5 separate regions of the Homo sapiens genome follow, and all the other regions are linked to region 2. The links are contacts of gene promoters, found by promoter capture Hi-C in human tissues and cell types (Jung and others, 2019). All regions are on one chromosome and are shown on one strand. The core of a region is centred on a gene start or on the middle of the fragment in contact, and the rest is flanking DNA. Distances in the headings are between cores, read along the strand shown.

Evidence for each region. The method cuts DNA at HindIII sites, captures the fragments that hold promoters and counts their contacts. A contact is called where the count stands out against the background at its distance.
Region 1: a contact is called between a fragment that was not itself captured here and the fragment with the promoter of TMC6 in region 2, in 1 of the 25 tissues and cell types used here (spleen).
Region 3: a contact is called between a fragment that was not itself captured here and the fragment with the promoter of TMC6 in region 2, in 1 of the 25 tissues and cell types used here (spleen).
Region 4: a fragment that was not itself captured here is called in contact with the fragment with the promoter of TMC6 in region 2 in 1 of the 25 tissues and cell types used here (dorsolateral prefrontal cortex).
Region 5: a fragment that was not itself captured here is called in contact with the fragment with the promoter of TMC6 in region 2 in 1 of the 25 tissues and cell types used here (spleen).

What each region holds. Positions count from the first base shown.
Region 1 is chr17:79,016,800-79,020,551 of GRCh38, reverse strand. C1QTNF1-AS1 (C1QTNF1 antisense RNA 1) reads left to right here. Exons shown (of 3, transcript NR_040019.1): 2 at 316-546; 3 at 936-1,343. Among named protein-coding and RNA genes, the nearest start is that of C1QTNF1, 5.5 kb to the left of the region's middle. The HindIII fragment of the contact is 6,860 bases long and covers 1-3,752 here.
Region 2 is chr17:78,126,798-78,130,619 of GRCh38, reverse strand. It overlaps TMC6 (transmembrane channel like 6), which reads left to right and starts at 1,865. Exons shown (of 20, transcript NM_001127198.5): 1 at 1,865-2,008; 2 at 3,714-3,822. The coding sequence starts at 3,788. RefSeq lists silencers at 1,772-2,301, 3,572-3,651, 3,702-3,751 and an enhancer at 2,982-3,231. The HindIII fragment of the contact is 22,186 bases long and covers 1-3,822 here.
Region 3 is chr17:77,372,062-77,375,855 of GRCh38, reverse strand. All of the region lies in intron 2 of SEPTIN9 (septin 9), which reads right to left. Among named protein-coding and RNA genes, the nearest start is that of MIR4316, 23 kb to the left of the region's middle. RefSeq lists an enhancer at 1-219 and a silencer at 2,408-2,907. The HindIII fragment of the contact is 8,820 bases long and covers 1-3,794 here.
Region 4 is chr17:77,455,439-77,459,457 of GRCh38, reverse strand. All of the region lies in intron 3 of SEPTIN9 (septin 9), which reads right to left. LOC105371903 (a long non-coding RNA gene) reads left to right here. Exons shown (of 3, transcript XR_934990.3): 3 at 1-2,920. Among named protein-coding and RNA genes, the nearest start is that of MIR4316, 60 kb to the right of the region's middle. RefSeq lists enhancers at 1,891-1,970, 1,395-2,009, 2,010-2,623, 3,273-4,019. The HindIII fragment of the contact is 3,011 bases long and covers 566-3,576 here.
Region 5 is chr17:77,155,757-77,159,549 of GRCh38, reverse strand. All of the region lies in intron 3 of SEC14L1 (SEC14 like lipid binding 1), which reads right to left. Among named protein-coding and RNA genes, the nearest start is that of SEC14L1, 17 kb to the right of the region's middle. The HindIII fragment of the contact is 5,418 bases long and covers 1-3,793 here.

The DNA.
Region 1 (3,752 bases), core at 892-3,391, 890 kb before region 2:
ATATTTCCTGGAACCCCTGGCAGGGAAGGCAGCACGTTCTGTGCCCTCCCTGATTTGGTAATTCTTTCTCTCTCCCTGGGCCTGTCACCACCACTCGCTGGGTCTGTTTACTTATTGCTGGAAAAAGCAATGTGATCTCAGTTAAAGTCTGCAAGACACTCGGTTCCAGATAAGCACAGCATGTCATTAGCAGCACTGTGAGTTTTCCCACCGCGGCCCTAACATCCCGCCTTTCCCAGCTATTTTGGGTCGGGCTGCCCAGTCATCCCACAAGGGCAGAGATTGGTATTGCAAACTTTGAATTCTGTTCCCAAGGGTAGCGACCGGCCGGCTCCGATGGTGACGTCCCACTGCCAAGGGGTGGGAGTGGGGAGAGTCTCCACAGAGCTTCGGAGAAGCTGCTAAGATGGAAAAGTGGAAACTTGGCAGACAGATCCAGCCTCCCTGGCCACTGGCCCATGCTCGTGGCTCCTGGATGGCGCTGCCACGTTCTGAGCAGCTTGGGACAGGTGGAGATCAGGACTGGCAGCTGCAAGGACACACCAGGTGAATAGGTTTCTTTATGGTCCTCACACCTGCAGAAAACCAGGAGGGTAAGGGCGTTCCCTCTTCCAGGAAGCCATGCCTTTCCACAGAAGTCTCCCCTGAGGCCATGTACACGTGTGCCTTGCAACTCTATCAAGCCATTTAATTTCCCTATGCCTCAGTTTCCTCACCTCTGAATATTTACTCTCCTGTTTTGGCAATGAATGTTTTCAGTTACATGGAGACAGGCATATACTGATCGACTAGGCAATATTTTACTTGATAAATAAGATGGGAGGGCCCCCTGGTGGACTCCCCAGTTCCAAGCACTTAACTATGAAATGAGTGAGTAAATGCATGTCAACATATGAATGAATGATTCAATAAAGAATGTCTTGTCCTTTATGCAGAGCCACAGAAACTAAAGAGAATTTCCAAAAGGAGTCTATGGTGAAGTCTCTGAGGATGCAAAGAAGACAAGGAGAATGAAAATCCAATGAAAGCCTGATTGTATTTGTTGACCTTAAGGAAAGTGATTTTATGGTACAGCCTCTCTGGAAGGGAGGGTGTGTTCGCTCACAGAATGCAAATACCCTTTGACCCCCTAATCTTTCTTCTAGGAGTTTCTCCTACAGATAAACTTAGAAGGGTGCTCAAATAAGTAAGTTCAAGGATATCCTCTGAAGCATTGCCGTAGTATAAAAAAAGCACAGATACCCTCAAAGGACATCATTAGGGGCCTGGTAAAATAAATTCCACACAGTGGAACACCGTGTAGCTCTTTAGAGAATAAACAGCTCTCTATATGTGATCTGGAACAATCTCCAAGCTATATTGTGAAGTGAAAATTACAAACCCTTACTGAAAAGCACTAAAGAAAATCCAAAGAAATGGAAAAGCAAAGCGTGGTCTTAGATAGAAGACTCAATATCATTAAAAAAAAAAAAAAACTCAGTTCTCGCTCAATTAAGCTATAGATTCCAAGCAATTCCATTCAAAATCCCAGAAGGTTGAAGGTGGGTGAGGTAGGAGGGGACTTGTCCTACATCATAGGAAGGCTTATTATAAAGACATAATAATGAAGATACTGGTATTGGAACAGATGTGATCAAGTATATTAGTTCAACATGATAGAAGGCCCACCCGACAAAGACCCATGTGTGTATGAAAACTTGATCTATGACAAAATTGGCATTGCACGTATATCAATGGGGATGGGATGGATCAATTCCTAAAAACACACAAGATGATGGGGAATCCACAGAAAAAGAAACGTAAACAGCCAAAAAGTGTAAGAAAAGATATACAACCTCACAGTAATCAGGCAAGGAGAAGACACTGATTACCATCAGATTGGCAAAATTAAGCCATCTGATGATGTCTGTGGAGCTGTTACTGGAAAGGGTCCCAAACCAGACCCCAAGAGAGGGTTCTTTGATCTTGAGCAAGAAAGAATTTGGGATAAGTCCACAGGGTAAAATACAAGCAAGTTTATCAAGAGAGTAAAGGAGGCCGGACGCAGTGGCTCATGCCTGTAATGCCAACACTTCAGAAGGCCGAGACAGGCAGACCACCTGAGATCAGTTCAAGACCACCCTGGCCAACATGGTGAACCCCCATCTCTACTAAAAATATAATTACCCCTATTTACCCCTATTCCTGCCTAACCTCCCAGGAATACAGCCCAGCAGGTCTCAGCCTTATTTTACCCAGCCCCTGTTCAAGTAGCATGCCTGTAATCCCAGCTACTCAGAAGGCTGTGGCATGAGAATCACTTGAACGTGGGAGATGGAGGTTGCAGAGAGCCAAGATTGCGCCATTGCACTCCAACCTGGGCAATAGAGCAACACTGTGCCAAAAAAAAAAAAAAAAAAAAGAAAGAAAAGAAAAGAAAAATGGCTATTCCATAGGCAGAGCACCCCCAAAGGCTGCTGGTTGGCTATTTTTATGGTTATGTCTTGATCATATGCTAAACAAGGGGTGGATTATTCATGAGCTTTCTGGGAAAGGGGCAAGAATTTCTTGTAATTGAGGGTTTCTCCCCGTCATAGGCCATACAGGGTAACTTCCAGACGTTCCCATGGCCTTTGTAAACTGCCACGGTGCTGGTGGGAGTGTTTTTTTAGCATGCTAATGTATTATAATTAGCATATAATGAGCAGTTGGGACAACTAGAGGTCACTTTTGTTGCCATCTTGGTTTTGGCAGGTTTTGGCCAGCCTTTATACTGCATCCTGTTATATGAGCAGGGTCATTGTGGCCTGTATCTTGTGACCTCCTATCTCATCTCAGATCCCGGGAGGTTAAAATGCCTTAACCTCCCAGGAATGTGGCCCAGCAGGTCTCAGCATCATTTTACCCAGCCCCTATTCAAGTTAAAGTTGCTCTGCTTCCAATGCCTCTGACATATTTCCCCCCTCCTTTTTACAAGAGGACCACTAATCCTAAGGGTTGTAGAGGTAGGAAGATTCCCCTTCTGTAGCTTCTTCAGGCTAAATAGGAGTAATGATATTCTCATCTAACTATTAAGGTCTTTTGTATTCAGGGTAGAGAGGAACTCAGTCAGAAAGCATCAGCATACTGACGGCCATTCATAACTCTGAGTTCCAACAAAAGGTGATATCTGGAAGACTGGCAAATGTTCAATTTAAGAAAACGGCGAGTAAGCTTATTCTGCATTCCTACACAACGAGTACAACAGGAATATATTCCACAATAGTAAAGCAAAATAAGTAAAATTATCTGATATGGTTTGCATCTGTGTCCCCACCAAATCTCATGTCCGATTATAGTCCCCAAAGTTGGAGGTAGGGCCTGATGGGAGGTGACTGGATCACTGGGGCAGTTTCTCATGAATGGTTTGGCCCCATCCCCCTTGGTCATGATAGTGGGTGAGTTCTCGTGAGATCTGGTTGTTTAAAAGTGTATGGTACCTCCTCGCTCTCTCTCTTTCTCCTGCTCCTGTCATGTAAGAGGCCTCTCCCCCTTTGCCTTAGGCCATGACTAAAAGCTCCCTGAGGCCTCCCCAGAAGCAGATGCTGCCATGCTTCCTGTACAGCCTGCAGAACCGTGAGCCATTAAATCTTGTTGCTTTATAAGTTACCCAGTCTTGGGTATTTCTCTATAGCAGTGTGAGAATGGATTAATACTTTATCCCAAATAAATTAAATAAGGCATTCCATCAACTGGGCAACTGTTGGAACTAAGCTGATATGGGGTTGCTAACA
Region 2 (3,822 bases), core at 616-3,115:
AGGCCACTTGGCCTCCCAGGGAGCTCTGTGCATGCTGGGCTGCGGGTGGCCCACCCTTCCCCTCTGCACAGGAGTCAGGGCCTGGTCTCCTGCAGCCCTAGGGTCCACTGGTCCGGGTCTGCCGCCTGGCTGCCTCCAGGGATGTCCAGCCTGCAGCTGAGGCCCTCTCTGTTCAACTCCTTCCAGCCTGGATAGGCAGGACTTGACCTCGAGGCCTGAGCTGGGAGCCTGACATGGGTGGGGATGGGAACGGTGGGGGCACAGGGGCCAAACTCTTTATCTGCCGGCCTCACCCTGGAGGGTGTGATAATGACAGGATGGTGGGCTCCCCAGAACCTGGCTGCTGGGTTTCCAGATACTCTTGGTGTTACTGCTGTACTTCCAGCCCCTGTCATTGGCGTTATGGTTGTGCCAAGACCCAGGCCTAGCACCTGGCCGGTAGTAAGTGCTCAGGAATTGGCTCCATTCATGCTCTCCCAGGCTAGATGTTTAAGACATATCTTTGCCAATTCTCTGTCCTTGGGCCCCTGGGAAGCCCGCAGCCCTTCCTCTCTGCTCCCTCTCTACCTGCTATAGGGCCCAGTCATCTCAGGTCTGAATGTTCATAGCTTTTCTGCCTCTCTGCCCACCTCCTTCCTGGTTTCCAGAGTCCTTTCTGTGTGTCAGGCGCAAGCTATGTGCTGGTGCTGGGCACACAGTGGGCTGGGGTAGGAGGGGGCACAGAACCACAGATGTACATGTCAATAGGAAGTGGTAGGTGCTCCACCAGGGTTCAATCTGGGGAGGCTCCCCAGAGGAGGTGGCATTCATGCAAATTCAGTGTGGGTATGCAGGGAGGGGGAAGCAGTGGGAGGAGAGGCAGGGGCTGGGTCTCCATGCCAGGGTGCCACTTGCCAAGAACCAGCTTGGGGTAGCCATCTGAGGACCACACTGGCAGCTCCAAAAGGCCCCAGCCTTGACCCCTGCCTGGTCCTCGCTTTTGCTTGCCTGCTCTCCCCTGCAGCAGTGCCCTCTCCTGCCCTCCTGGGCCCCAGCTCACATTCACCCTGCCTGCTTCATGGCTTCTCCCCGCCAGGAATGACCCTCCCTTCCAAATGGGCTTGGGGTGGGGGGTACAATCTCAAAGGCAGTTTCCTCCATAGAGTTCCCAGGTGGACCACTAAGTCTCCTGCTTTGGCTGGGGGCACCCTAAAGGGTGATTAACTTCTCTCAGCCTCAGTTTCCTCATCTGTGAAATGGGAATATCAGTGCATACCTTCCTGGCTCATGGGGAATAACAGAAAACAGGGCAACGGGTACAGCACCTGGGGACAGTCACCTAAGTGTCAGCGTGTCCTCCTTTTCATCCCCTCCTCTCCACACAGCACACAGGAAGTGAGCCAGAACTCTTGCTAGATAAACAATGAACCCCGCCCAGGTGTCAGGAGTGGGAGATAACCAGGCTCCCCCCGCCGGGGTCGGGGAGAGTCAGCAGGAGGCTTGCGGGGGCGGCGGGGGGGGGGGCGCTGCCCAATCTGGAGTGAGATACTCTGTGTCCCTGGGGCTTTCGGCGGCATCTTACTTGGACGATCCCTAACCATGGGAAGCAGATGAGTCTGGAAATATTGCCCCTTTTTGGAACTTGGGGAAACTGAGCGTCAGAAAAATTGGGGACTTCAACCAGGGGCTGGAATGAATCCAGCCCAGCTCAGACCTCAGGAGGAGGGGTCGGAAGTTGGCAGGGGAGGAAGGCATAGTCGCCGCGGGGCGCCCGGAGGAGGGCGGGGGCGCCGCGGGCCGGGCCGGGTCACGTGATAGCCGAGGCCCGCCCCCCCCCCCCCCGCCCACGTGGGCCGGGAGGTGCGGCTACTCCCCCGGCCCCGGCAGACCTGCGACTGGCCCAGTCGCCCCTGGGGCCCTTTGCCACTCCCTTGGCAAGGAGAGCCGAGACCTCAGTTCCCGGCGGCTCTTGCGGGGCACAGGTGAGCCCTGGCTGCGCGCGCGGCCCCTCCTCCCCGGCGCCTCCCAGGTGAGCGGCCGCGATCCCGGTCCCGGGTCCCGCCAGCCCCAGCTGCTTCTCCTATGCGGGGACAGCGGCAATCCCCCCTGAATTCCTTTCGGCCTCTGGGGCCATTTGGCAGCCGAGTTCCCTCCCCGGGTGCTCCTGGAGCTCCCAGGGCTTGACCCTCCGGCTCGGACAGAGCTGGGAGCGGCAGGGGCGGGGAGGACAGTGCGGGGAGCAAAATCCGCAGCCCCCACCCAGGTCCCCCAGCCGAGCGCCAGGGCACGGGGAGGGGAGGGGAGGGGGTGTGGCCGGGATGGGAAGGGGCGGGGGACAGGGAGGCCGGCTGGACGGGTTCGGTGGCCCCAGAGTTGCAGCCGCTCTGGGCTCTGGGGCCAGGTTGCGGTTCTCCCTGGGTAGCGGCTGCTCCCGGGAAGCTCGCTGCCGGCTGGGGTGGGGGTTCCTGGAAACGGGCGCCACCCAGCCTCTCCCCACCTAGCTCAGGAATGGTGCGCCTGGAAACTCCGCTGGACTTGCCTGGGCCTCGGGGCGGAGTGCTGGGGCGCTGGGTGCCCGAGTCCCCGGGTTCCCTGAGCTTAGAAGGGCCTGTCTGGAGGAAGGGATTCCAGCTCTAGGGACTGGGTGGGGCGTCCTCAGCCCCTCTTTCGGCAGCTGTCCCGTGTTAGGCTGGGTGGGGCCGCCTCGGACCCAGCTCTGGGCTGGTTTTCCCACGTCTTTGCTCCTGCTGGAGGGAGGGGGTGGTGTGGGGCCTGGGCCCGAAGATGGCACCCAGGACACTGAGGGAGGGCGCCGTCCGGTCCTGTGACTGGCACCCCTGCAAGGAGCTGCTCTGTCGGGGCGCCCCCGGGCTTTGCCTGTCCGAGGAAAGCGCCCTTCAACCCGGCCGACTTTGAGCCCTGAGTTCCTGAGGGTGAGCGCAGGAGGAGTCCAGGGCAGAGGCCGGCAGGACTCGCTGGTGGCTGGGAGCTGAGTCCTGGCTCCACTCTCACAGATGAACGGGCCCCGAGCCCAGGGCCCCAGACAAGGCTGCTCTGGTTCCAGTTGTGCCGGGTGACGGCAGAGCCAGGACAAAGGAGGCCTGTTGAGGTCCTGGCCACCCCCAGCCGGCCGCCCTGGGATGATGGAATGCAGGGCAGTGGGTCTTCTGAGAACATGAGGACCTTGGCGCCCTGACGGCGGTGGCATGGAGTGACCTCTGTGTGTGGGGGAGGAGCCCCCTGTGCTGCTTCCGCCTGGGGCTGGTTGGGGGTGAGGGCTCCAGCAGCTAATTTCCTGCTAGAGGAAGTTCTTTGAGGTCACAGGGCAGACGCAGAGAAGGCCTACAGCCTACTCTGACCTTTCTCTCCAAAAAGGAGGTGTCTCTGTGCCAGAACCCTGGGCATGGAGATCCTGAAAGGGGCTGTGTCTACAGGCACCCTACCTCTTCCCCATTTCCCAGGGACTGGCGACATCGAGGAAACAGATGTGGAACTGCAGACCCCACACCCTTCCTTCCTCTCTCCCCTCCCCTGACACTGGAGGGGGCCCCCCATTCCATTCTGGCATGAGGCTTATTCGGTGCCTCACCATTTATGTACCTGGGGTGATAGGGGGGTGGGCGGGACTGTCTGGGCTGTGAGTGGCACCTCCTGTGGTTCCCCCAGGAATGGGTGGTGTGGACAGCTGCCAGGCGTTGAAGACCACCCCTGGCTCTGTGCCCCTGTCTCATCAGATGGGGGCTCCGGAGGTGGCGCCCAGGCTCTGAGCTACCCTAGGTCTGCAGACTAGCGGGCATTGGCCAGAGACATGGCCCAGCCACTGGCCTTCATCCTCGATGTCCC
Region 3 (3,794 bases), core at 204-2,703, 750 kb after region 2:
CCCCAGGTCAGCCCCCATGCACATGCGCACTCATGCACACACACACTCTCTCACGCCTATCGACTCGGGCCACCTGATGGCTCTAAGACCAGAATTCCCAGCAAAACCATTCAGGACACACAAGGGGGAGACTGATAAACACAGGGAACCAGCAGATTGAGGCCCCACTCCCCGAGACTGAGAAACCTTCCCCCAGAGCCAAAGGATTGCCAACTGCTGCACCAGGATGGTCTCAATGAGCCCATTGTCTTGGACTAAATTACAGGGTCACAAAACTGGCTTGGGAGACAGCCGCAGAAGCAGCTCCAGATGGAGGCACATGGGGGCAAGGGTGGAGTTACACCCAGAGACCCAAGGAAGGGGCACTAACAACTTTCATAGTGCAAATGGTGACAGCTGTACAACGAACACAACCCCAAACCCTGGCCTCCCCTCCCGCCACAGGGCTCCCGTTGAGACACGAGAGTTCTTCCCCAGAAATCCCACTGGGGGCCCGACACTTTCTGTTAGGAACTGAGAGCAGAGACCTCGATCCCGCAGGCAGGAGGAGAGCTCTGCACAACACAGGGCCTCTCTCCATAAGGGCTTACTGGAAAGTGGTCAGACCGGCTAAGTCGTGCCACTTGGACATTTGGGACAAGGAAGGCCCCTGGAGGAGCGGTCGCAGGGAGGAGTTGCAAAGAGGCAGGGGCAGGGAGGTCACATTCACTCGGGGACTGCAGGAGGCTCAACGGAACACAGTGGACCTAGGGAGACCCCAGTATGAGCATGTGCCCAAAGATGTCCAGATGAGGAGGTGTTGTGGGGGAGGGGGGCGGGAACAGCAAGCCCTCCCAGCTCTGCAGACCCAGACCTCCCCTCCCTCTGGGAAGCAGGGATGCAAAGGGATAGAGCCTGAAAAAGGGCTTTCACCACTAAGCTGACAAAGTAACTACGATGTTTCCAGCTCACACTCTGCACAGCGCCAGTGGCCACTGGATCACAACCCCCTCCCGTCCCTTCGCCGCCCCACACCCTCCTCAGGCCCAGCCCTGAAGAACAGCCACTGGCACTCTGCTTGGCGTCCAGCCAAAGTTCTGGTCCCCCAGGAGGCCCCGCCTCCCCCACTCAGATAGGGCTGACCCCAGGTGGGCCGTGTGGGCAGCTGGGCTCAGGACACCCAGATGTCAGCCCTGGTTCTGGCCATGGAGCGGGGAGGACCTCAGGCTGGTCACCTCCCAGCTTGGCCTGACACCTGGACAGTTTGCTCATTTCAACACAGCCTTTCCCCCTCCCGGCCCACCAGAGGGCTCTGCCCAAGTCAGCCTAGGAGCCTCTCCGAGGGGCGGGGGCTCCAGGTCCCGGCAGAGGCAGGCCCGCCCCTCAGAAGCCCTGCCCCAGAGCGCTGGAGACCATTGTGTGAGCTTCCCCTTCGCCTGCTGTATTTACTCCCGCGGACGCAGGACGCAGAGCCCCAGCACCGGCAGTCAAGAGGACGCAGGAAAGCGCACGCACTCACAGGCTCAGAGACGCGGACGCCAGACCCAGGCTTGGACAGAGCAGCCCCGCAAGTCCCAACACACTTTGTAAACCCCGAAGACAGGAGAGAGCCAAAATACTCTCCCTGCCCGCACGCAGGCCCCTTCTGTCCCCCACGGCCCGATTCTGGGAGGCGGATGAGGATATCCCCAGGCCTGGATGGGGGCCATGGGACATCCCACTCTAGACCCTGCCACGACCTGGGCTGTGTCCGTTCGGTGCTCCCGGCCCACGGGCTGCACAACTTGGCGGCCCCGAAACTGGCGTGGGGGAGGGGAGGGCTGTCCACCCGAGCAGGACGCGGCTGTCCACTCAGTCGGAGGTGAGGAACGACCTCCCTATCCCGTTGCCGGGTCCAAGCGGGGCCCGAGAGCCGCCGGGGAGAGCCAAAGGGAGGGGACCGATGGATTTCCCAGAGTGAAACTGTGCGTCCTGGAGAGTTCCGAGGCAGCCTCGCGAGCCCTCGAGGAGGTCGCTGTCGCTTGGCAAACACAAACAACAATAAAAGGAAGGAAACCCAGGCGGCAGTGCGCAGAACGAGCACAGGGTCCTGTGAGGGCGCGCAGGGTCTACGCGGGTGCCCCTAACAGGGTCCCCCACGTAGGCGGCGCGGGCACGGGGCCGGGGGCGCGCGGCGCTCTCAGCGGGAGGGCGCCTGGATTAGGGGTCCCGTCTCCCCTCAGCGCACTCCCGTCTCCCCTCAGCGCACCCCCGTCCCGCGCCAGGCCCACCCGCAGGGTCCTCTCCAGCACGTCCGCGGCCGCAGCAGCCAGCCCAGCACCCACCTTCGAAGTCCGAAATGATCCCATCCAGCTGCGCGTTGACCGCGGGGTCCGACATGATGGCTGGTGGGCAGCGGGTCGCGCGGAGGGCAGCGGCGAGGAAGCGCCCCCGGCGGGGCCCGGGCCCTGCGCGCTGGCTGGGGCGCCGCGCCCGCGCTCCTGCAGTGCAGAGCTAGCCGCCGGAGGAGCCCCTAGGCCCCCTGGCTCAGCTGAATGAATGGGGGAGGAAGGCGGGCGCCGGCCCCTCCCCGCGCGCTGCGCCCCCGCCCCGCCCCCGCCTCCCGGGCGGATCAGGTTCCCGCACCCGCACCGGCCTCCCTGTCTCGCACTGGCTGCTCCGCCCGCCTGTCAAGGCCAGGCCTGGGGGGCTGGGGCCCGAGTGGCCGCTGGGGGACAGTCCTGGGCACACGACCGGAGCGCCCCCCTCCTCCCCGCCTGGCCCGCGCCCAGGGGACGGCGAGAGACGCGGCCTCAGCCCCTCCCCCCGGGCGCCCCGCTGCGGCCAGATGTGGGCGGATGTGGAGGCCGGGCCATGGCGAGGAGGGCGGGCGCCCAGAGGGGAAGAGATTCCTCCCCTTCCCCGGGCGCAGGGTCCTTCTGCAGGAGGCTGTATTTGGGCAGCCAAACAAAGTTCTCTGTCACCGCCGCCGCGCGCTCTGCGCCTGCAAGGGTTAAACGGCAGCGCACGCGGCTGGCAGGCAGGATCCCGGCCTGTGGGCTCAAGAGCCGAGGGGCGCAGGGCGAACATGCGAGTCCCATGGCACCAGCGAGAGGCCACCAACTCCCACCCACCGAGGGCACCCCTGCAGCTAACACCCCCACCACGACCACCGCCCCGGGGGCCACCGCTGCACCCTCCTGGGTGAGCCCTGGAGAAGGCACTGTCCGGGAGAAGGGGCACAGGGCGGGGATGGAACACGGCTGTCAGAGAAGCCAGGGACGGGCGACGCCTCCCTTCCTCCACAATAAGGGCCTCCTGAGAGCAGGAAGTAGACCTTGTCAGGAGCAGACGTTTCCGAAGGAAGGTGTGAAGGAAGGAGCTAGGCAGTGAGTGAGCAGAAAGGGAGCTGCCCCAAGGGCTTCTCCCTCCCTTCTGGGCCCTAACCTGAGGCCTAGCCTTCCCTCCAGGCCAGCGGTCTCTACCCTTAAACTATATCATCCACAAGGCAGGCAGGGCCGAGGGGCTGGGGTAGACCTGGGGACCTGGGTTAGACACAGAACTTGAGAAGCAACAGGCTCTCATCCTCAAGAAGGGCCCCCCAGGTCTGTCACCTACAAGAGAGAGAGGCGCTTCTTCCACTCGCCCTGGAAAGCCAGAAACCCACTCCTGCATGCTCTCCCTGTCACCCCGTCCCTTAGACCCTCGGCCTCTGCCCAGAGTCAGGGGCCATGTGAGAATTCACAGCATGGAACAACACCCCCACCCCCGAAGCAGCAGGCCGCAACGCTACAACTGCACTCCGGTCCCTTGAATGTGTGGCCGGGGAGCGCCTG
Region 4 (4,019 bases), core at 822-3,321, 670 kb after region 2:
TGGCAACTGCGAGGTCCTCACAGACCGGGCCCGGGTCTTAACCACAGCCGCATCTCAGCGCCTTGATATTGCTGAGTGGATGCCCAAAAAGCACTGCTGGGTGAATGTGCGAGTGAATGATGAAGATGGAGGTGGCTGTTGGTGCCAGGGCAAGGCCCCAGGAGTCTGGGGAGGTGGCACCAGGCAGTTCAGGTCAACGGCTAACCCTGGACAGGGCCAGGAGGCAGCCAGAATGGTTAAGGACAGCTAAGGGACTTTAGGCAAGTGGTCTCACTCTTCCCAGGCGGGCAGGAAGCAGGAATCAGACCAAGGGGTGCCAGGTGGTAGTGGCACTCAGGGGGCCTGAGGAGCAGGTGCAGGCTCAGCAGGGCTGGTGGTGCCACGTGTGGGGCCGACCGTGGCCCCGTTCACTGCCTCCACCTCCTGGACGCATGGGCCCATGGCCCCCAAGGCCCTCCTCTGTCCCCACGCCCACCTTTCCAGGCTCCACTTCCAGACGCCAAGCCATTTTCTCACTCCCATCTCTCCCGTTGCCCCTATATCTGAGCTGACCTCCTCCCTGAGCTCTGGTGAAATTCTAGAGAGCCCAGAGGTGCAGCTCACACTCCTGCGCCACAAGGCCTTTGCAGTCTCCACCTTCCTGGGACACTCCATCTTAGAGCTGGGTGTGTACTTATCTCACTGGATCAGAAACTTCAGGAATGCCCATCTTGCATGCTCCTGCTCCCCACTTCCCGCCCGCCACTCAGCCCGTGGCTGCCATGTGGTTGGGCCTTGGCAGCCACCGCAGCTGGTAACACACAATTAGCACTTCTGTGTCCAGGTTCCGTGCTGAGCCTCTTCAGTTTCATCCCCGTTTGTCCTCAAAATGGTCCCTGACATGGTAACCATCATTATCCATTTTTCAGACAAAAGACCATAGCTCTAGGAGAGGAGGAATGGCAGGTCTGAGGCCACGTGGTTCGTAACAGGCAAATGGACCCGGCAGTCACTCTACCCTCGAGTGGGGCTCCTCCCTGTCTGCAGACCTCGCTGAGGTTTTAGAGCCTGGAGCCAGTGAGTCTCCACTGAGCACAAGGACAGCGGCGGTGCCGGGGCTGGAACAAGGCAGGGAGGGGCCTCCCAAATCACAGTCCTGGCTGTGGACCCACCTTGGGACCCCGCCCTGGCTGGGAACCTTGCTCCAGCCCACCCGGGACACCTTCCCACCCTGAGTCCTGCACTGGGCTGTGCACGGGGTCTGCTGAATGAGTGAGGGCAGGAGGGATGGTGAGCAGGGTGGAAAGCGACTATGGTGGGTAGGCTTCTGCTGGAAGCTTGAAACATTCCTGGCGAGCAGGAAAATACCAGGGGAAGAGGTTACAGCCCTCAGAAGGGCTCGCTGGGGACTGTCCTGCAGCCCTCTCATCGGGACAGGCAGAAAATCCAGCCCCCCTTCAGGGTGAGTCCAGGAAGCCTGTGGGGGCACAGGCTCTAGCTAGGGTGGCGCGTGGGTTTACCCAGGGGACGCTGCCGTGGCCCAGAGTTAGGTTAAACCTCATGTATTCTGTAAATAATTATTTATAATAAACAAGGCTTATTCACCCTCTAAGAAGAGTAAAACATTACAGGAGGCACTTTCTCACCAACTAAACACGTCATAGTGACTTCACTGCGTCACTGAGGGAGGGCACCAGGGTGCCCGGTCCAGAGTAAACTGTGGCCAGGGGGACGGGCACACTGCCAAATCGGCCAGACCTCCACCCCTGAAAATGTGGGCTAAATTCTCTTCAACAAGTTACAAGGAAATTCAGTGTGAACCCCATGTTTCCACCACTATCGGCTGTTCTGGAAGACTGGGAGGAGGGGTCTTGCCTTTTCTCCACTCTTGGTCACAGGGTTTGAGGCCACAACTTGGACTGGGACCCCAATCTCCTTCCTGGGGAAGAGGCTCATTCAGGGTGTCTGCCAAGGCCCAGCGCATAAACACGGAACTCGCTTAACGTCTGCTCCGGCACCTCTGGGCCTCCCACACTGGGTTCCCCTATCTGACCCCTCAAGCAGTGAGAGTGATGGGACATGGGGCGCCTCTAGGGGAGACTTGGGGAGATGGAGCAAGCTTCCCAGCCCAAGGTGAGGTCCCGAGGCATGGTCCATGCAGTGATGCTTCTCACGGGAGGCCTGAGGCATGACCAGGAGCTTGGAGACTCAGCAGAGGTCTGGGCATGGGACTCTCGGTACGCAGCCAGAGCGAGGGCCGAGGCTGTATGGATGCAAGCAGGTGACCCTGTGCCATCGGGTGCCATCTGTGCCGGGCCCTGTGCAGCCGTCCCCATCTCACTGAGCTTCAGGGAGGTGAGGCAACCATCCCAGGCACACAGCCCCGGGGGCAAAGGCTGGACCCAGGTGTGTCTGATTCCAGAATTCAAGAAGACAAGTAGAGGAGTCTGAGTCCCCTGAGACCGCAGTGATGGCTTAGTGCCTCAGGATGGCCAGGCTGGCTCCTGCAGCTTTAGTCAACCGTGCCCTCCTTCAGTCATCCAGGGTCCCAGCGCTGGTCCCTGAGACCTGGTACTGGCCATAGGGGCCCATCTCTGGCTGTGGACATCTAGTGCTGGTCACTGGGATCTGGTATTGGCCGTGGGGACTTGTCCTTGGCTGTGGGGACCCAGCGCTGGTCCCTGAGACCTGGTACTGGCCATGGGGACCCGTCCCTGGCTGTGGGTACCCGGTGCTGGTCCCTGAGATCTGGTACTGGCCATGGGGGCCCGTCCCTGGCTGTGGGTACCCGGTGCTGGTCCCTGAGACCTGGTACTGGCCATGGAGGCCTGTCCCTGGCTGTGGGTACCCGGTGCTGGTCCCTGAGATCTGGTACTGGCCGTGGGGGCCCATCCCTGGCTGCAGGGACTCAGTATTGTCTATGGGGTCTGTCCCTGGCTTCGGGGAGCCAGTAGTGCCTGTGGGGCCCATACCTGGTGGTGGGGACCTGGTGCTGGAGGATCCTGACAGCAAAACCACAGAGGCGACAGGTAACAGCAATCCATTAGCACAGCGTGTGGCCTGCCCTAGCCACGGCACCTTCCTCCACTCTGTGCCCTCTCACCACAAAGCCTAGTGCAGGTAACGAAGCCAAGAGGTGGAGAACCCGCAGGAGGACGCACACCACACCTGCTCCTCGTGTGGCGTCCCTGCACCCTGGGTGGCTGAGACCCCCTGCTCCTCCTCCAGGCCTCTCCGTGCCAGGTCTGCGCTGTTCTCCCTGGCCTCGGCTCCCACCCACCCGGCCCCCCAGCTACAGACAGCAGCGATTCTCCCTCCCACTCAATGGGGCCACTGTCCAGCCCATCATTAGTCTTCAGGGCTGGCAGATGACACCGGCCACGGGCAGTGTTTCCTCCGGCCCCAGCACACAAGGCACAAAAGACACCATCCTGCCCCAAGACCCTCCTAGTCACGTGGCGCATGGGAAGCGGTGCCGGGAATCTTCCAGGGCAGTCCCCTGCCCCGGGGGAGATCGTGTTCAAATCCCCGAGGAAATGCTGCTCTTTGGCCCTTTTTCTGAAAAACCCCCCAAGGAGACCTTGTGCGGAGCGTGCAGGGAGAATGGAGATTCTTGTGAGACTGTCTCGGGATAGCCTCACAGAAACCACAAACTATTTGGATAAAAGTTGAAAATCTGCGGTCACACAATGCTGACCATTCATTCAAACACTCGTTGAGCAAGCACCTATGACGTCTGGGAACTCAGGACGTGGATCGACAAGACACAATCCTCATGTCCGTTCTAGTGACAGAGAGAGAGACGGCACCATCAACCCCGCCCGCTGGGGGCCCCCTTGGAGGGGGCGTGCAGGTTCAGGGCTGAATCTGCCCAGTGGATGTGCCACCCACGTCTGCGTACCTCCTGGTCCTGTGGTGGCCCCTGGAACAAAGGCTGAGAGATAAAAGACAAGGATCTGGGGGAGGGAGGACGTCCATGCACATTCCACTGGGGACACCAGCAAGGATGACTGTTCAGTGACCATTCAGTGACCGAGTCA
Region 5 (3,793 bases), core at 1,116-3,615, 970 kb after region 2:
AATTAGCTAGGCTTGGTGGTGGGCACCTGTAGTCCCAGCTACTTGGGAGGCTGAGAGAGAAGAATCGCTTGAACCTGGGAGACAGAGGTTGCAGTGAGCTGAGATCGCACCACTGCACTCCAGCCTGGGCAACAGAGCGAGACTCTGTCTCAAAAAAAAAAAAAAAAGAAGAAGAAGAAAAGAGGCCGGGTGTGGTGGCTCATGCCTGTAACCCCAGCACTTTGGGAGGCCCAGACAGGCCCATCGCCTGAGGTCAGAAGTTCGAGACCAGCCTGGCCAAGAGGGCGAACCCCCATCTCTACTAAAAATGCAAAAATTAGCCAGGTGGTGGTGGCTCACACCTGTAATCCCAGCTACTTGGGAGGCTGAGGCAGGAGAATTGCTTGACCCAGGAGGTGGAGGCTGCAGTGAGCCAAAATTGTGCCCCTGCACTCCAGCCTGGGTGACAGAGTGAAAGTTTATTTCAGAAACAACAAAACAAAAAAAATACTACAGTTGGGTGGATCACACGAAGCCAGGCGTCCTAGACCAGCCTGGCCAACATGGTGAAACCCTGTTTTTATTAAAATTACAAAAATTAGCCGGGCGTGGTGGTGCACATTTGTAATCCCAGCTACTTGGGAGGCACGAGAATTGCTTGAGCCCCAGAGGTGGAGGTTGCAGTGAGTCGAGATCGTGCCACTGCACTCCAGCCTAGGCAACAGAGTGAGACTGTCTCAAAAAAAAAAAAAAAAAAAAAAAAAAAAAAAAAGGAAAGAAAGCTATAAAATGTAATTGAAACTTTAAAAATGTATAGTACAGACAACAGCCAAAAGGTAGAAACAACCCAACGTCCATCGGTAAGTCAATGGATGAGCAGAATGTGGCAGATACAATTGAGTACAATTCAATTCAGAATGTGGCATATACAATTGAGTACAATTCACCCCTGAAGAGGAAGGGAATTCTGCACATGCTACAACATGGATGAACCTTGAAGACATTAGGCTAAGTGAAAAAACCCAGTTACACAAAAGGTCAAGTACTACCCAAAAACTAAAGCTACAACATGGGTGAACCTTGAAGACATTAGGCTAAGTGAAAAAACCCAGTTACACAAAAGGTCAAGTAACTACCAAGTTACGCAAAAGGTCAAGTGTCATTCTACCCATAAGAGGTACCGAGAGTAGTCAAATTTATAGGGACAGAAAGAATGGTGGCTGCCAGGGGCTGGGGAAAGGAAGAATGGGGAATGAGTGTTTCATGGGGACAGAGCTTCGATTTGGGGAGATGAGAAAGTTCTGGAGATGGATGGTGGTGGTGGCTGCACAACGATGTGAATTTAGTTAGTGCCACTGAACTCTGCACTTAAAAGTGGTTACAGGCCGGGCACGATGGCTCACGCCTGTAATCCCAGCACTTTGGAAGGCCAAGGTGGGTGGATCATGAGGTCAGGAGTTCGAGACCAGTCTGGCCAATATGGTGAAACCCCATCTCTACTAAAAATACAAAAATAGAAGTTATGGCCAGGCACGGTGGCTCATGCCCAGCCCACATGCTTGTTAATATAACGTGGACATCACTAAATAAACTCAAGAACAGCAATTTGGAGAAGTACATAAAGCAAACAGTCTCCTTCTAGTGTATGTTAAATCCGTCACATGAAAACATGATGTAATAAGAGCCTATTTATACAGCCTGTTGAAAAAAACCATTCGTTTGAAAAACTTTTAAATAAAAGTTATGGCCAGGCATGGTGGCTCATGCCTGTAATCCCAATACTTTGGGAGGCCAAGGCAGACGCATCACGAGGTCAGGAGTTTGGGACCAGCCTGACCAACATGGTGAAACCCCGTCTCTACTAAAAATACAAAAATTAGCCGGGGATGGTGGCGCATGCCTGTAATCCCAGCTACTCAGGAGGCTGAGGCAGAAGAATCGCTTGAACCTGGGAGGTGGAGGCTGCAGTGAGCCGAGATCATGCCACTGCACTCCAGCCTGGGCAACGCAGCGAGGCCCCATCTCAAAAAAAAAAAAAAAGTTATAATAGAAACCACCCTCCTTTCTTCCTATCCCATGTACTACAAATTCAAATGATGCAAATCCACACCAGGGGTTCTCCAGCTTGAGCAGGCGTTAAGAATCACCTGGAAGCCTTGTGAAGCCACAGACTGCGGGACTCACCTCCAGAAATTCTGACTCAGTGAAGAATTAGGATTTGGAACTCTTCGAATTTACATTATAAACCAACTTTGTGTGAGAAAATTCAAATGAAGATAATACGTGTTTGGAGAAGAGCTTTCTAAATATTAATGCCATAAATCCTGCAACATACCAATGACCACTTAAATCAATTTACTTCTTAAAATATGTACCCTGTAGCTTTTAGTTCTGGGCCTTGATTTTTAATACATACACAAGCATTAAACTAGGAAAAAGAAAAGAAACACACACATTTTGTGATTAGGCCTACCTCATGCTATGGAATAACTTATTTATTAAGAAAACAAGAATTATGTAATAACTCTTGGGTTTTAAATTTGGAGAAATCTTAAAGTCAGATTACCATTCCACCAGAGTCAAGAATTTTACTTAAAATAAATTTATGTTCTGTAGGAGAACCAAAGAAATAGGATTTTGTATATACTTTGTATTCATCACTACAGGAGAAAAGCCACTCAAAACACTAAGTGACACATAAACCAGGACACGCTTTTCAGGCAACTAGAGGGATTATAAGCTTCAGTTCACTGAACTATTTTACTCACAAAACATGATTTGCATCAGATTCTTTTGAACCATAAATAGTAAATACAGCCGACCAAACGACTATGTTCCAATGTAACCTTTTGTCAAAATTTTCATTATGTCATGGGATTAGAGTAAAAAAAAAACAAAAAACAAAATTTCACTGACAGAGAAGAAGTGATGCAAGAAACGAAAGCATACACTGCAAGACCCTCTACTCTTCATAGACATCTTTTTTTTTTTTTTTTAAGACGGAGTCTCGCTCTGCTGCCCAGTCTGGAGTGCAGTGGTGTGATCCCAGCTCACTGCAACCTCAGCCTCCTGGGTTCAAGCAATTCTCGTGCCTCAGCCTCCCCAGTAGCTAGGATTACAGATGTACGCCACCACGCCCAGCTAATTTTTGTATTTTTAATAGAGATGGGGTTTCACTATGTTGGCCAGGCTGGTCTCAAACTCCTGACCTCAAGTGATCCGCCTGCCTCAGCTTCCCAAAGTGCTGGGATTACAAGTGTGAGCCACCGTGCCTGGCCGAGAAATCTATTTTTGAGGGCATGAGGATTTGATTCTCACCCTGGGAACACTGGCAGTTGCAGGGAAGGTGACAGAGAGAGGCAGAGAGACCAGTGGAGTGTCAGGACCCTACAGCGGCTGCCAGTGCACAGAGAGGAACCTCCACCAGGAGCAACTGCATGCAGCCAGCTAGAGTCAGCCAGGTGAGAAAGCAGGAAAGGTATTCCAGGCAAGTATGTGGTCAAGGCACCAAGATCATGACAAAAAATGGTATACCTAGGAAACAGCAAGAAATTCGACATAATTAGACTGTGCAGTGGGTGTGGAGGCCTCGCCATGGAGAGGAGGCTGCAGGACAGGCAGAAGGCCAATGACAAAGGATTCTGGGAGCCAAGCTTAAGCTGGGAACCTCATCTTAAAGATGAGGTACGTGGACTGGGCGAAGTGGCTCACGCCTGTAATCCCAGCTGAGGCTGAGGCAGGAGAGAGGCGGAGGCTGCAGTGAGCCGAGATGGCACCACTGCATTCTAGCCTGGGCAACAGAGCGAGATTCTGT